Linked DNA regions of Homo sapiens: all the other regions are linked to region 3. Evidence: promoter capture Hi-C in 16 types of primary human blood cells and fetal thymus (Javierre and others, 2016). All regions are on one chromosome and are shown on one strand. Each heading gives the region's core, a stretch centred on a gene start or on the middle of the fragment in contact. The rest is flanking DNA. Distances are from core to core; before and after follow the strand shown. Region 1 overlaps VAX2 (ventral anterior homeobox 2). Region 2 overlaps ATP6V1B1 (ATPase H+ transporting V1 subunit B1). Region 3 holds the start of FIGLA (folliculogenesis specific bHLH transcription factor).

What was found. The method cuts DNA at HindIII sites, captures the fragments that hold promoters and counts their contacts. A CHiCAGO score of 5 or more calls a contact.
Region 1: a contact is called between a fragment that was not itself captured here and the fragment with the promoter of FIGLA in region 3, in 6 of 17 cell types (M0 macrophages, M2 macrophages, M1 macrophages and 3 more). The highest score is 16.0, in M0 macrophages.
Region 2: a contact is called between a fragment that was not itself captured here and the fragment with the promoter of FIGLA in region 3, in 1 of 17 cell types (M0 macrophages). The highest score is 5.1, in M0 macrophages.

What each region holds. Positions count from the first base shown.
Region 1 is chr2:70,922,246-70,926,077 of GRCh38, reverse strand. All of the region lies in intron 2 of VAX2 (ventral anterior homeobox 2), which reads right to left. Among named protein-coding and RNA genes, the nearest start is that of ATP6V1B1, 12 kb to the left of the region's middle. The HindIII fragment of the contact is 8,926 bases long and covers 1-3,832 here.
Region 2 is chr2:70,963,023-70,967,302 of GRCh38, reverse strand. It overlaps ATP6V1B1 (ATPase H+ transporting V1 subunit B1), which reads right to left. Exons shown (of 14, transcript NM_001692.4): 10 at 3,991-4,141; 11 at 3,649-3,731; 12 at 2,761-2,865; 13 at 2,438-2,567; 14 at 1,872-2,345. The coding sequence ends at 2,182. It also overlaps the pseudogene RN7SL160P. Among named protein-coding and RNA genes, the nearest start is that of ANKRD53, 13 kb to the left of the region's middle. RefSeq lists a silencer at 2,028-2,137. The HindIII fragment of the contact is 239 bases long and covers 2,911-3,149 here.
Region 3 is chr2:70,788,639-70,792,773 of GRCh38, reverse strand. FIGLA (folliculogenesis specific bHLH transcription factor) reads left to right here and starts at 2,131. Exons shown (of 5, transcript NM_001004311.3): 1 at 2,131-2,366. The coding sequence starts at 2,136. The HindIII fragment of the contact is 3,375 bases long and covers 1-2,692 here.

The sequences.
Region 1 (3,832 bases), core at 274-2,773, 130 kb before region 3:
AGATTAAAGAAGAGACTAGCCATGGAAATGGGCCCTGAGCAAGCTCTGTGTTTTCTCTGCCTGAATTGGGACCATGCCTGGGTCCTCTGAGTATCCAGGGAAGAAGGTAGAGATGCTATTTGGCAGAAGGAAGAGAAGAGAAAAAAGAGAGGAGAAGAGATAAAAAGAGAGGAGAGGAGAGGAAGAAACAGAGAGAGAAGCAGATATTTTGGAGAGCAGTTGGAGCACATACTCAGCAGAGCACTGGGAGGAAGTTCTGTGAGTAGCTGGTGCTGAATCCCTCGGGCCCAAAAGAGCCTTTGGCTTCCAGTCTCTTCCAATTCCTGGCTACACCATGGTTCCTGTTATTGAATTTCAACAAGGCTATGGCTTCTGTTTTTAATCCCTGGGGAGTCCATCCATTATCTGAGGGCACTTGAAGGAATTTCTTATCTTTTCCCCCAAAAGAGCTCTGACAGAGACTCTCAGATAACTTAAACCAGAGAAAAACCAGCCCTCCCCCCAAAATCTGACATGCTTTCTTGACATCTCCGCTGGGATCTCAAACTTAACTGATCCAAAACAAAATTCTTGATTATGCTCCCACCATCTTGCTTCTCCCCCAGTTTCTCAACTCATTATATGGTGTCACCATTCTCCCAGTTGTTCTACCCAAACCACTTCCTTTCCCTTGCCCTGGGCGTATAATCCATGAGCAAGTCCTAATATGTTCCAGCACTAAATTAGAGTGCCTCTCACATTAGTACGCTTCTCTCCTCCACCACTGCTCTGTTCAGGACCCATGTCAGTAGTTCCTACCTGTCCACACCTGTCCACTCCTTTCCCCTGTGGGTCCCTTCCCCAAGTGGCAGCCAGAGAACCTCTGTAAAATGCCAATCATCTCCTGTCACTTTCTCTTCAATGTATTACCATAGTCTCTAAGCATCGCATGATCCTCCCCTACCTACTTACCCAATTACCCTGTAGCTCCAGCCACTCTGGCCTTCTGATACTTCTAGAACATTCTATGCCAATTCCTGCCCCTCACGTCTTCATAGTTACCGTCTGCCTTGACGTCTCCTTCTGGCTCCTCATCTGGCTGTTTCTCCCTTGCCACTCAGGCCTAAGCTCAACGTCATCTTCTCAAAGAGGCCTTCCCTGAACACCCCAGTAAAACACTTCCTTTTAGTCTCTCTCCTATGACCCCATTTGAGCTCCCTCACAACACTCATCACTCCTGGAAATGCGGTTTGTCTTTGTCTCTGTGGATCTTAGCTGCACGAGGGCAGATGCCTGGTCTGTTTTGTTCTAAGCCAAAGCCCAAGTGCCTAGAAGAGTACCTGCTATATAGTAGGTATTCAATAATATTTTTGAACAAAATTATGGGTGAACATACTGAGAATGCCACAGAATTCTAGCTACAAGTTAGTTAACCTCTCTGAGGCTCAGTTTGCTTAAATGGGGATAATAGTACCCATAAAGCCATCTTCATGGGTACTATTACCCATGAATGCACCCGCTGCAAGTCTTGAGCAAGTTATCTATTTAACTTTTCTATGCCTCAGTTTCCTTCTATTTAAAGTGGAAACAATATACTCTTATTGGCTGGGCATGGTGGCTCACACCTATAATCCCAGCACTTTGGAAGGCCGAGGAGGGAGGATTACTTGAGACCAGGAGTTCCAGGCCAGCCTAGGAAACAAAGCGAGACCCCGTCTCTACAGTAAACATAAATAAATAAATAAATAAATAAGACTTACTGTTGTATGCTAATGAGGTGATTCAGGGTGGATCTCTAGGTAGTTTCAGGACTGGGGCTGGTTCTAGAAAGACCATACTTGTGATTAGAGGGTAGAAACTTTCAGCCGCCCCCATTCTTTCCTTCTAGGGAGGGGAGGGGAATGGAGATTGGATTATAGTCTTTTTTTGTTTGTTTTTGAGATAGAGTCTTGCTCTGTCATCCAGGCTGGAGTGCAGTGAAGCTAACATGGCTCACTGTAGCCTTGACCTCCTGGGCTCAAACAATCCTCCCACCTCAGCCTCCCAAGTAGCTGGGACTACAGGTGTGTGCCACCACACCCTGCAGTTTACAGTGTAAACTGTAAAAAATGTTTTAAAAAACTTTTTTTAGAGATAAGGTCTCCCTCTGCTGCCAAGGCTGGTCTTGAACTCCTGGACTCCTGAGCAATCCTCCCTCCTTGGCCTCCCAAAGTGCTGGGATTGCAGGCGTGAGCCACTGTGCCAGGCCGGCCTGGATTTAGTCTTGAACAAGGAGACCAGGAGAACTTCTGGTTGGCGAACACGTGGAAGTGCTGGGAATGGGGGCACTGGAAACGGCATGGGAGCTCCACGCACCTCCCCCTTACCTTGCCCTTTGTGTCTCTTCCATCTGGCTCTTCCTCACTCGTGTCATTTATAATAAACCAGCAAGTGTAGGGGAGGTGTTTCCTGAGTTGTGTGCGTCATTCTAGTGAATTGTCAAACCTGCAGAGGGCGATGTGGGAGCCCCCGGTTTTAGGCCAGTCCATTCAGAAGCACAGGTGGCTCCTGGAACTTGAGTCTGCTGTGGCACTGTCTTGTGGGACAGAGCCCTTAACTTGTAGGGTCTGTGCTAGCTCTGGGAATTAGTGTCAGTATTGAACTGTTGAATATACTCAGTGATGCTGGAGAATTGGAGCACTGCCTGCTGGTGGTTGGAACATACCATACACCTGGTGTTGGAAGAAAAATCTCACACGTATCCCATAAGGTTGTGGTGAGGACTAAACTAGTTAGACTATGTCACACCCTTGGAACAGGACCTGGTGCATGGGAAGCGCTCAATAAGCATCAGCTGTCCATTACTTTTACTATCTGTCAACCCTAGGACTGGGGACAGAGGAAGGAGGGTTGTAGTGAGAACAGTGCGGAGGACTTGCTGAGGGCCTACTATGTGTCCAGCTGTGTTCTGGGCTCCTTGTGAAGCACGACGAGGAGCCATGGCCTATAAATACATTCTTGTCCTAGGGAAGCAAATACTGGTGGACATCCAACACCACACACATGTACACATGCACACACGTGCACACACACACACACACTATCTGTCTCTCCAGGTCACGCCATGTGGAAGGGTCTCTTGGGAAGAGGGCAAGGTGCCTGCAGAAGGCTTCCTGGAAGAGGGGGGCTTGGGCTTGACCTCCAAGGGCAGCTCAGTGTAGGGAATACGGGCCTCAGTGACTTCCCCAGGAGTTCTGGCCTGGCCCTGCCACTGCAGCCTCCTCTCTGAGCACAAGCCTGGCTTCCCAGCCCCCTGTTGAGCCCAGCTGGAGGGAGGCCCCGCAGGGTTGTTTGGGAGCTCTGCAGTGGCAGCTGGGGAAAAACAAGTGCAGGTGGAGATGACCCGGCCCTGCAGGACAGCAGCTGCTGTCCTTCCCCGGCCTTCCCCTCCTCCCGGCCTGCCCCTCCTCCCGGCCTGCCCCTCCTCTGCCTCTCACCCCTTCTCACCTCTTCCTCTGCCCTACTCTCAGTGTACCCCAGGAGGAACCTGCTAACCTCTCAAGGGGACCAGGAGGACTTCCAGGCGCATCTGACTACCCCCTCCCCAGGGGTGGGCTGCACAGCACTCTGTTGGGGGGATTTGAGGGGCTGGAGGAATTATGCTGAGGGAAACAGGGAGAGCTGACCTCACTGAGGCAGGGACACAGGGGAGGACAGCAGCCACACAGCACAGACGGGAAGCCCTCACTCCAGCACAGCCTCCCGCCTCGCTCCAAGGAAGGAAACCAGCACACTGCTCCAGACCAGTGCTTCCGCATTCCCCTCCTCCCTTCCTCTCCACTTTATCAATCCTGTTTTGGCCGTCGTTTACAAT
Region 2 (4,280 bases), core at 1,781-4,280, 170 kb before region 3:
AGGAAGCATTCATGATTTCACTGTAGATGGGGCAGGGGAGACAGAGGAGGGATTGATATTACAAAAAAGTTGGCAGCTTTCAAAGGAACATCAGGCAGCCTAATTTATAGAATACTCTTCATCCATTTCTTAACTGGGGATCTTCAGTCTTCTGCACTCATACCCCCCAAGTCCTTCAGGCCCTCTCCCTAGCAACTCTTCTCCCTTCCTGTCTGGAGCAAACCAAATTCTACCTAGCATCTCTCAGGCAGAGCTGTTTAGAGTCACACACATCTTTTGTGGCCTTGGTTGTCCCTTCCAAGGCTCCTGAGCTCATGTTCCACATGAAATTTATCAAGATATTTGTGTGTTTATTTGTTTGTTACTGAGACAGGGGGCGACCCTGTCTCACTCTGCAGCCCAGGCTGGAGTGCAGTGGCGCCATCACGGCTCACTGCAGCCTGACCTCCCAGGCTCAAGTAATCCTCCCGCTTCAGCCTCCTGGGTAGCTGGACTACAGGTGTGTGCCACCTAGGTGATTTTTAAAAATTATTTTAGTAGATACAGGGGTCTCACTATGTTGCCCAGGCTGGTCTTTAACTCCTGGGCTCAAGCAATCAATCCTGTCTCAGCCTCCCAAAGTGCTGGGATTACAGGCTTGAATTATCACACCCAGCCTATCAAGCTATTTCTTTCTTTCTTTTTTCTTTTTCTTTTTTCTTTTTTCTTTTTTTTTTTTTTTGAGACGGAGTCTCACTCTTATTGCCCAAGCTGGAGTGCAATGGTGCAATCTTGGCACACCGCAACCTCTGCCTCCCAGGTTCAAGCGATTCTCCTGCCTCAGCCTCCCATGTAGCTGGGATTACAGGGATGTGCCACCACAGCCGGCTAATTTTTTTTTTTTTTTTTTTGTATTTTTAGTAGAGATGCGGTTTCTCCATATCGGTCAGGCTGGTCTCGAACTCTCGACCTCAAGTGATCCGCCCGCCTCGGCCTCCCAAAGTGCTGGGATTAACAGATGTGAGCCACCGCTCCTGGCCCAAGCTATTTCTTAAGGAAGATAATTATCTCCCTAAGAAAAATTTTATTGTCAACTGTTAAGACATTAATGCAGCTTTTTAAAAATTAATTAATTAATTAATTAATATGAGATGGAGTTTTACTCTGTCGCCCAGGCTGGAGTGCAGTGGCGCGATCTCAGCTCACTGCAACCTCTGCCCCCCGCGTTCAAGTGATTCTCCTTTCTCAACCTCCCTAGTAGCTGGGATTACAGGCGTGCGATATCACACCCAACTAATTTTTTTTGTATTAGTAGAGACGGGGGTTTCGCCATGTTGACCAGGCTGGTCTCGAACTCCGGACCTCAAGTGACCCCCGCCTCGGCCTCCCAAAGTACTTGGATTACAGGCGTGAGCCACCGCGCCGGGCTTAAATTTAATTTTTATTTTTTTTTTTAAGAGACAGAGTCTCGCTATGTTGCCCAGGCTGAAGTGCAGTGGCTATTCCCAGGAACGGTTCTGCTATTGATCAGCACTGGAGTTATGACCTGTTTGGTTTCAGACCTGGACTTGTTCACCCCTCCTTAGGGAACCTAATGGCCCCCGTCTCCGGGAGGTCACCATATTGATGCCCAACTTAGTGTGGACACCATATCAGCATAGCGCACGACAGACCAGAACTCCTGAGCTCAAGCGATCCTCCCGTCTCAGCCTCCAGAGTAGCTGGGACAACAGTCTCAGCATCCGCGTTGGGCTTTTTTTTTTTTTTTTTTTTTTAAATAGGGAGAATAGTTTAATGAACTCCGTGTGCTCATAACCCCAGCCCCCAGCTTCAACAATTATCTTTTCCTTTCATTTTTATCTTTCTTTTGCCAATCTTGTTTTCAACGAAGGTAAATTCATCTCAGTTACTTTTTATTTTTATTTTGTGGGCTTTTAACATAAAAATACAGATGCTCCCGTCAGAGTAAGGCATCGCAACCTTCAGTTCTTCCGCAGCACCGGGAGTCGAGGGGGAGGCATGGAGCGCGGGAAAAGGAATCGAGCGAGGGAAAGGGATGGAGCGTGCGGCGCCCCCACCACCTCGGAGCCAGCGGAGGGCGGAGGGCGGCGCAGAAGCCGCTGGTTGGGGTGGCGAGGGAGGGGAGACCCGGGAGCCGAGGGTAGGTTCCCTGCCGGTGTTGGGGTGCCACGGCGCGCGGGGCTAGAGCGCAGTGTCAGGCGCGAGGTCCTGCAGCGCCCCCTCGCGGGAATAGAACTCGTCGATCACGGCCTGCGGAATGCGCTTCAGCATCTCCTTGGGGAAGATGCGCAGCAGCTTCCAGCCCAGGTCCAGCGACTCGAACACCGAGCGGTTCTCGTAGGGGCCTAGGGACAGAGCGGGAGGGAGTGTTAGGAATGTGTGTGGGGCGGAAGGAGGGTGAAGAGGTTACTGGCTCCACACCAGCGACGCGCCTTACCCTGATTGATGAAGTTCTTCTCAAACTTCTGCAGGAATTCCAGGTAGAGCAGGTCCTCAGAGGTGAGCGCCTCCTCCCCAACTACTGCCTTCATGGCCTGCACGTCCTTCCCGATGGCATAGCAGGCGTACTGGGGGAGGGGCAAGGCGTCGGTGGCCGCTGCGGGCTTACCACGGGAGTCCAGTAGCCCCCAACCTGGCCACACTGGGACCCCGTTCGGAAAGGAATTTTGCCAGGAGAAAAGCTTGTCCTTCAGATGGGGCTCAGGCCTTCAGCTTCGGAAACTAGAGGACCTACCAGCCCCCGGACCCTCTTCTCCTTACCAGCTGGTTGGAGACATCTCCATGGTCCTTTCTTGTCATGCCTTCCCCAATGGCTGACTTCATCAGCCGCGACAGGGAAGGGAGCACGTTGATGGGGGGGTAGATCTGAGGGAGAAGAAAAAGGGAGTGGTGGACAGCAGGACTCAAGCTTTGCTCCCCCTGTCCCCAAATTGTTCTCAGGAGAAGCTCCTCACTTATCCTACATTCCGAGGGGTCAACAGCCACACCCACCCTCTCTTATCTCCCACAAATTCTAGGGCTTGGGCATCAGCTGTCTTATATGTGGCCCTAGACAGAACAGTGGAGGGGGAAGATGACATGGCATTAGTTAATAAAAGGCTCAGTATTTCAAAACTTTTGATAATGTGGACAAAAACCACTTTGAAGCTTAATGGTTAATAGCTGCAAAAAAAAAAAAAAAAAAAAAATACCTGCCAAGCAAAGAGAAAAACGTCATAGAGGTCACCTTTAACCTACACACAGGACAGATGTGTGTTAGTTAGCCGTTGTTTTCTGCCCACCGAAGCAAATAACTGGAAAGGGAAGGCAAATAGTATTGACTATCTGCCAGATGCTTTCTATATGCCAACTTATTTTTATCCTCCACAATGCGTCTGGGTGATATATTTGATTATTCCCATTTTATGGATGAGGAAACCTAGGATCCAAGAGATGAAATTATCTTCTCAAGATCCCAGAGCCAGGTAAACCAGATTCTGCTCAGGCCTGTCTTCTGTCTGTGAACCATGCAGTCTTCCCTGTGGCTGTCTCCTGTTTGGGGTTCGCTTTGGCTGGCCCCTCCTAATTCATGCCTGGGGGCAGTGAAACATCTGTTCCTCAGTGTTTCTCTGGGCTGAGAGCAGGAAGTGGGTAGGGACAGGGCAGTACCTGTCTGTTGTGAAGCTGTCTGTCCACGTAGATCTGTCCCTCTGTGATGAAGCCCGTCAAGTCTGGGATAGGGTGGGTGATATCTACAAGAAAACTCACTGGCCTCAGTGTGGGTGGGGGCCCAGGTCTCCAACCACTCAGGGCCACCTGGGGTCTGTTTCCCTCATGGGAGTGATAGGGATGTGTGGGGGGCATGGATGGTGGAGGAAAGGGCAGTGTCTATCTCGATGGAGGAAAAGCGCTGCTGCACATCTGTGCAAAGCAACGTGGGCCCTTTAAGTATCTGGTTGGAAAAGGGAGGACAGGGGAGCTCTGGAGGGTAGTGGGCTGTGAGGAGGCTACCGTCGTTGGGCATGGTGAGGATGGGGATCTGTGTGATGGATCCTCCCCGACCCTCCACGCGGCCCGCCCGCTCGTAGATGGTGGCCAGGTCTGTGTACATATATCCAGGAAACCCTCGGCGCCCAGGCACCTCCTCTCTAGCAGCAGAGACCTGCAATATCCATGGGCACTGGGGTAAGAAAGGGGATGAGAGGCTGAAGCTAGGAAGGGTGGGTGGGAGGTTCAGTGACCCTGTGAGAAATGGAGTGGGGGGCAGGGGAGGAATGGCCAGGCTGAGACCAAGCCCTGGA
Region 3 (4,135 bases), core at 882-3,381:
AATGGATGAGAAGGAGTATCTCCTCACAAAATTTTTTTTTATTTTTATTTTTTGAGACGGAGTCTTGCTCTGTTGCCCAGGCTGGAGTGCAGTGGCACAGATCTAGGCTCACTGCAAGCTCCGCCTTCCGGGTTCACACCATTCTCCTGCCTCAGCCTCCTGAGTAGCTGGGACTACAGGCACCCGCCACCGCGCCCGTCTAATTTTTTAATATTTTTTAATAGAGACAGGGTTTCACCATGTTAGCCAGGATGGTCTCAATCTCCTGACCTCGTGATCCGCCCGCCTCAGCCTCCCAAAGTGCTGGGATTACAGGCATGAGCCACCGTGCCTGGCCCACAAAATATTTATCAATTTATGGTGAAAAAACCTGACACCACCACCTTGACCAGGCGATTAAGGTTAACATCACCAGTGGTGGGGCAGATCAACCTCATGTACTTCCTGATGTGATGCACTGAGAAGAGCCCAGCATCATTTATATGGAGCCCCTCCATGAAGGCATGGCTGGGGTCTGGACATGAGCAAATAGTGGACAACCCCAGGTCGAGGGACATACTACAGAATGAAAGGCCCCTACTCTTTTAAACTGTCAAGGGCATGAAGACAGGACAAGATGGAGGAAATGGTCCAGAATGAAGGAGAGTAGAAATATGACAACAGAATAAAACTTGTACTCCTGGATTGGATTCCAACCAGAAGAGAAAAAGACATTGTTGAGACAGCTGGTGGTACTTTGATGGGGTCCATGGATTGTATGGTAGCACAGTACCAATGCTTACTTCCTAGTTTGAGTGGTTGTGTTGCGGTTATGTGGAAGAGAGGCCTTGTTTAGGGGGAATACCCACTGGAGTATTTAGAGGTGATATGACAGCATGTCTGCAACTTAAAAACTTTAAAAAAAGAATAGATCAATGGATGCAGCTAGACGTCATTATTGTAAGGGAACTAACACAGAAACAGAAAACCAAACATTGCCTGTTCTCACTTTATAAGTGTGAGCTAAACATTGAATACACAGGGACACAAAGATGGAAACAATAGACACTGGGGTCTGCTTGAGGGGGAAGTAAGAGGGGGGCGTGGGTTGGAAGGATACCTATTGGGTACTAGGCTCACTACTTACGCCACGGGATCATTCGTACACCAAACCTCAGCAACACACAATTTACCCACTTAACAAACCTGCACATATACCCCTGAACCTGAAACAAAAGCGTAGAAAAAATATTTTCTCAGACCAAAGAAAAAAAAATGTATTTCTATGCTTGGAAGGAATGATTTTACAGAGGGCTTCCAGAAACATGTCTGATTTTCAGGTGCAAGATCAGAATGTTCCAGTTATATTGATAACCTCCAGAGAAACAAACTCTCATGAGTAATCTACTCAAAACAGAAGATGTAGTTAATTATTTCTAGAGTACTAAATTGTACTCTACTATTAAACAAGTTTGGGATCGCTATTTTCCAGCACATTTTCTGAAGTAACAACTGTGTTTGGCTGTGTTGACAATAAAGGTCTGTGTGGAAAAGGGGGAAAATGAATAAAGCGATGTATCCCCCCACTCGCGAAAAAAGAAAATAGTTCAAATAGAATGGAAAAAGAATAATGAAAATGAGAATATTCACAGCGAGAAAGAGGGCAACGGAGCAAACGTGAAAACTTAGCAAGTAGAGAGCGTGGCGAAGGGGGTACAGGAGCTCTTAGAAACTCTTCTTGCCATTTTCCCCGCAACTTTTATTTCAAAACGAATTCTTAAAAAAGTTTTGTGGATATCCATCACATTTTTCTGTATACACATAGCCAGAAGCTCAGGCCCCAAGACAGATTGATTAAATGGGAATTTGGGGGACTGGAACCGTGGCATGTGGATTGAGAAAAACACCACTACCACGCTCCCGGCGGTTCCAGGTGTGCAGCCGGGGCTGCGCTCCAGCGCTCCCGAGTCACACCTGTGCGGCTTATTCAACGCGATGCCTGGACGCAGCCTCCAGAGAGGAGGCCGGGATTGGAATACGCAGCCGGGGAATGGTTGCAGGTGGTCCAGCTCCCGCCCCCGCCCCGCCCCCGCCCGGGCCTCGTGCGGCCCCGGGTGCGCAGGTGAAAGCCCGGCCTCAGCGGCCTCGGCCCTGCCATGGACCCCGCGCCCGGCGTCCTAGATCCCCGCGCCGCGCCGCCCGCGCTCCTGGGCACCCCGCAAGCCGAGGTGCTGGAGGACGTGTTGCGGGAGCAGTTCGGGCCGCTGCCCCAGCTGGCCGCTGTCTGCCGGCTCAAGCGGCTGCCCTCGGGCGGCTACTCGTCCACTGAAAACCTCCAGTTGGTGCTGGAGCGGCGGCGTGTGGCCAACGCCAAGGAGCGTGAGCGGGTGAGGGATCCCTAGGGTCGACGTCCGTTCCCCCCTTCCCTGCTCTACCACCAAACACCTGGTCAACACCCGGGGGTCCGCTCACCGCCCACCCCCGCTCGAGGCGACTTCGAGCTCCCGAGGCCTCCCACGCCCCCAGCTTGTCAGGAGAATGGCAGTGGCCTCCTTCTTCTGCACCTCCGTGCAGCTGCTCGTTGGCGGCCGCTGCGGTGGCCGCCTCGCCCGCTAACCCTCCAGGATTTGTGCAGGACCCGGGTCTGGGAGGGGACAGAGGAGGGGCCCTGACAACTTCAAAAATGTCTCCCTGGGCAGGTGCTTTAAAAGCTTCGCGCCCAGGGGGTGCGCCTTCATCTCACACCGTAGGCGCTGGTGGGTGCTTGGGACGCGCAGGGATCCCCTTCGCTCCTTTTTCTTGCTCTCTGCATCTCGGCCTCGAAGCACACACGAGGGTGAGGAGAAAGGGGGGCCTGACGGAAGTGACTTTTCTTTTTTAAAGTAACGAAACACGACGTCCCAGTGTGCACCCAAGACTCCCACTCAACTCTGTCAAGATAAAGTGAGTGTTTCCCAGTCGAGCCGCAGCAACTCGCAAACGGGAAGGGTCCTGTGGGCCGTGGTTGGAGCGGCACCTGCTGGTAGATTTTACTATCTAACGAAACTCAGCCCCAAACTTGGGAGACATGGTCTCCTTCCTAGCGTTTGCAGTCTACGGGTTTGGTTGCAGCAGAGGCGAATCCAGGAGAGAGAAGGGTGAGGGGTAGAAGAGGGAGCAGAGCGCACGTTCAGGACTGGGACTGGGGAGAGAAGTACCGCCCGGGGCTGTTCCTAGGCCTTTCAGAAATGTCCCAGTGAATCAAGTAGGAGCTTTGCAGGGAGAGGGCAAGCGCAGAAAGGACGACAGGAGAGTAGGAGACTTCTTTAAGTCTCCTCTTTTACCAGTACTAGACTCTTGATGGACAGAACCCTGTGATCTGATTCGGTGGCCCTACAAAGAGATTATGATCTAATAGTTTAAGTGGTCCTTCCCACCAGGAAGGAATTGTCTTCTCCAGAGAATCAGTCCTGGTTTTATCCACTAAAACACGAATAAGCTTTATTATTCTTTATAATGATAAGGTTAACACACTTGGAAAAGACAGAAATGAGTGAAGAAGTTAAGAGACACAACACAGATATAACTACTGTGAACATTTTTGTGTATATCCACCCAGTCTTTTTCTAGTTTTGTGTATTCATATATATATATATATAATTTTTACAAAATATTCAGTACATATTTGTGTAATTTTTTCCACTTAACATTATCAAAAGCATTTTCTTATATTCTTAAGTATTCTTTCAAAGAATAGTTTTTGACTGCATAGTCTGTCCAAAAATGGACCATAATGTATTCAGTCTCTTATTGTTAGGCATGTTTGCTGTTTGTAGCTTTTTACCGGTACCTATCGGTGTAACTCTATGTGCGTGTCTGATAATTTCCTTAGAATAAAATGCTACAAGTGAAATTACTGAGACTTAAGGCATATACAATGGAATGGCTTTTGATACAAGTTACCCAATTGCTTTCTAGATAGGTTTACTAATTTTTATCCCTTCTTACAGGTCTAGGACTGTTCTCTTTTTCAAGCTATCCCTTATCCTGGGTATGATAAAACAAAAATGTTACCACCTTGATACATAAAAAATGGTATCTAATTTCTGTTTTAGTTTGTAGTTCTTTGATTATTAAATTCTTTTTATACACTGAGTGGTTGTTGTATTCTCCTGTG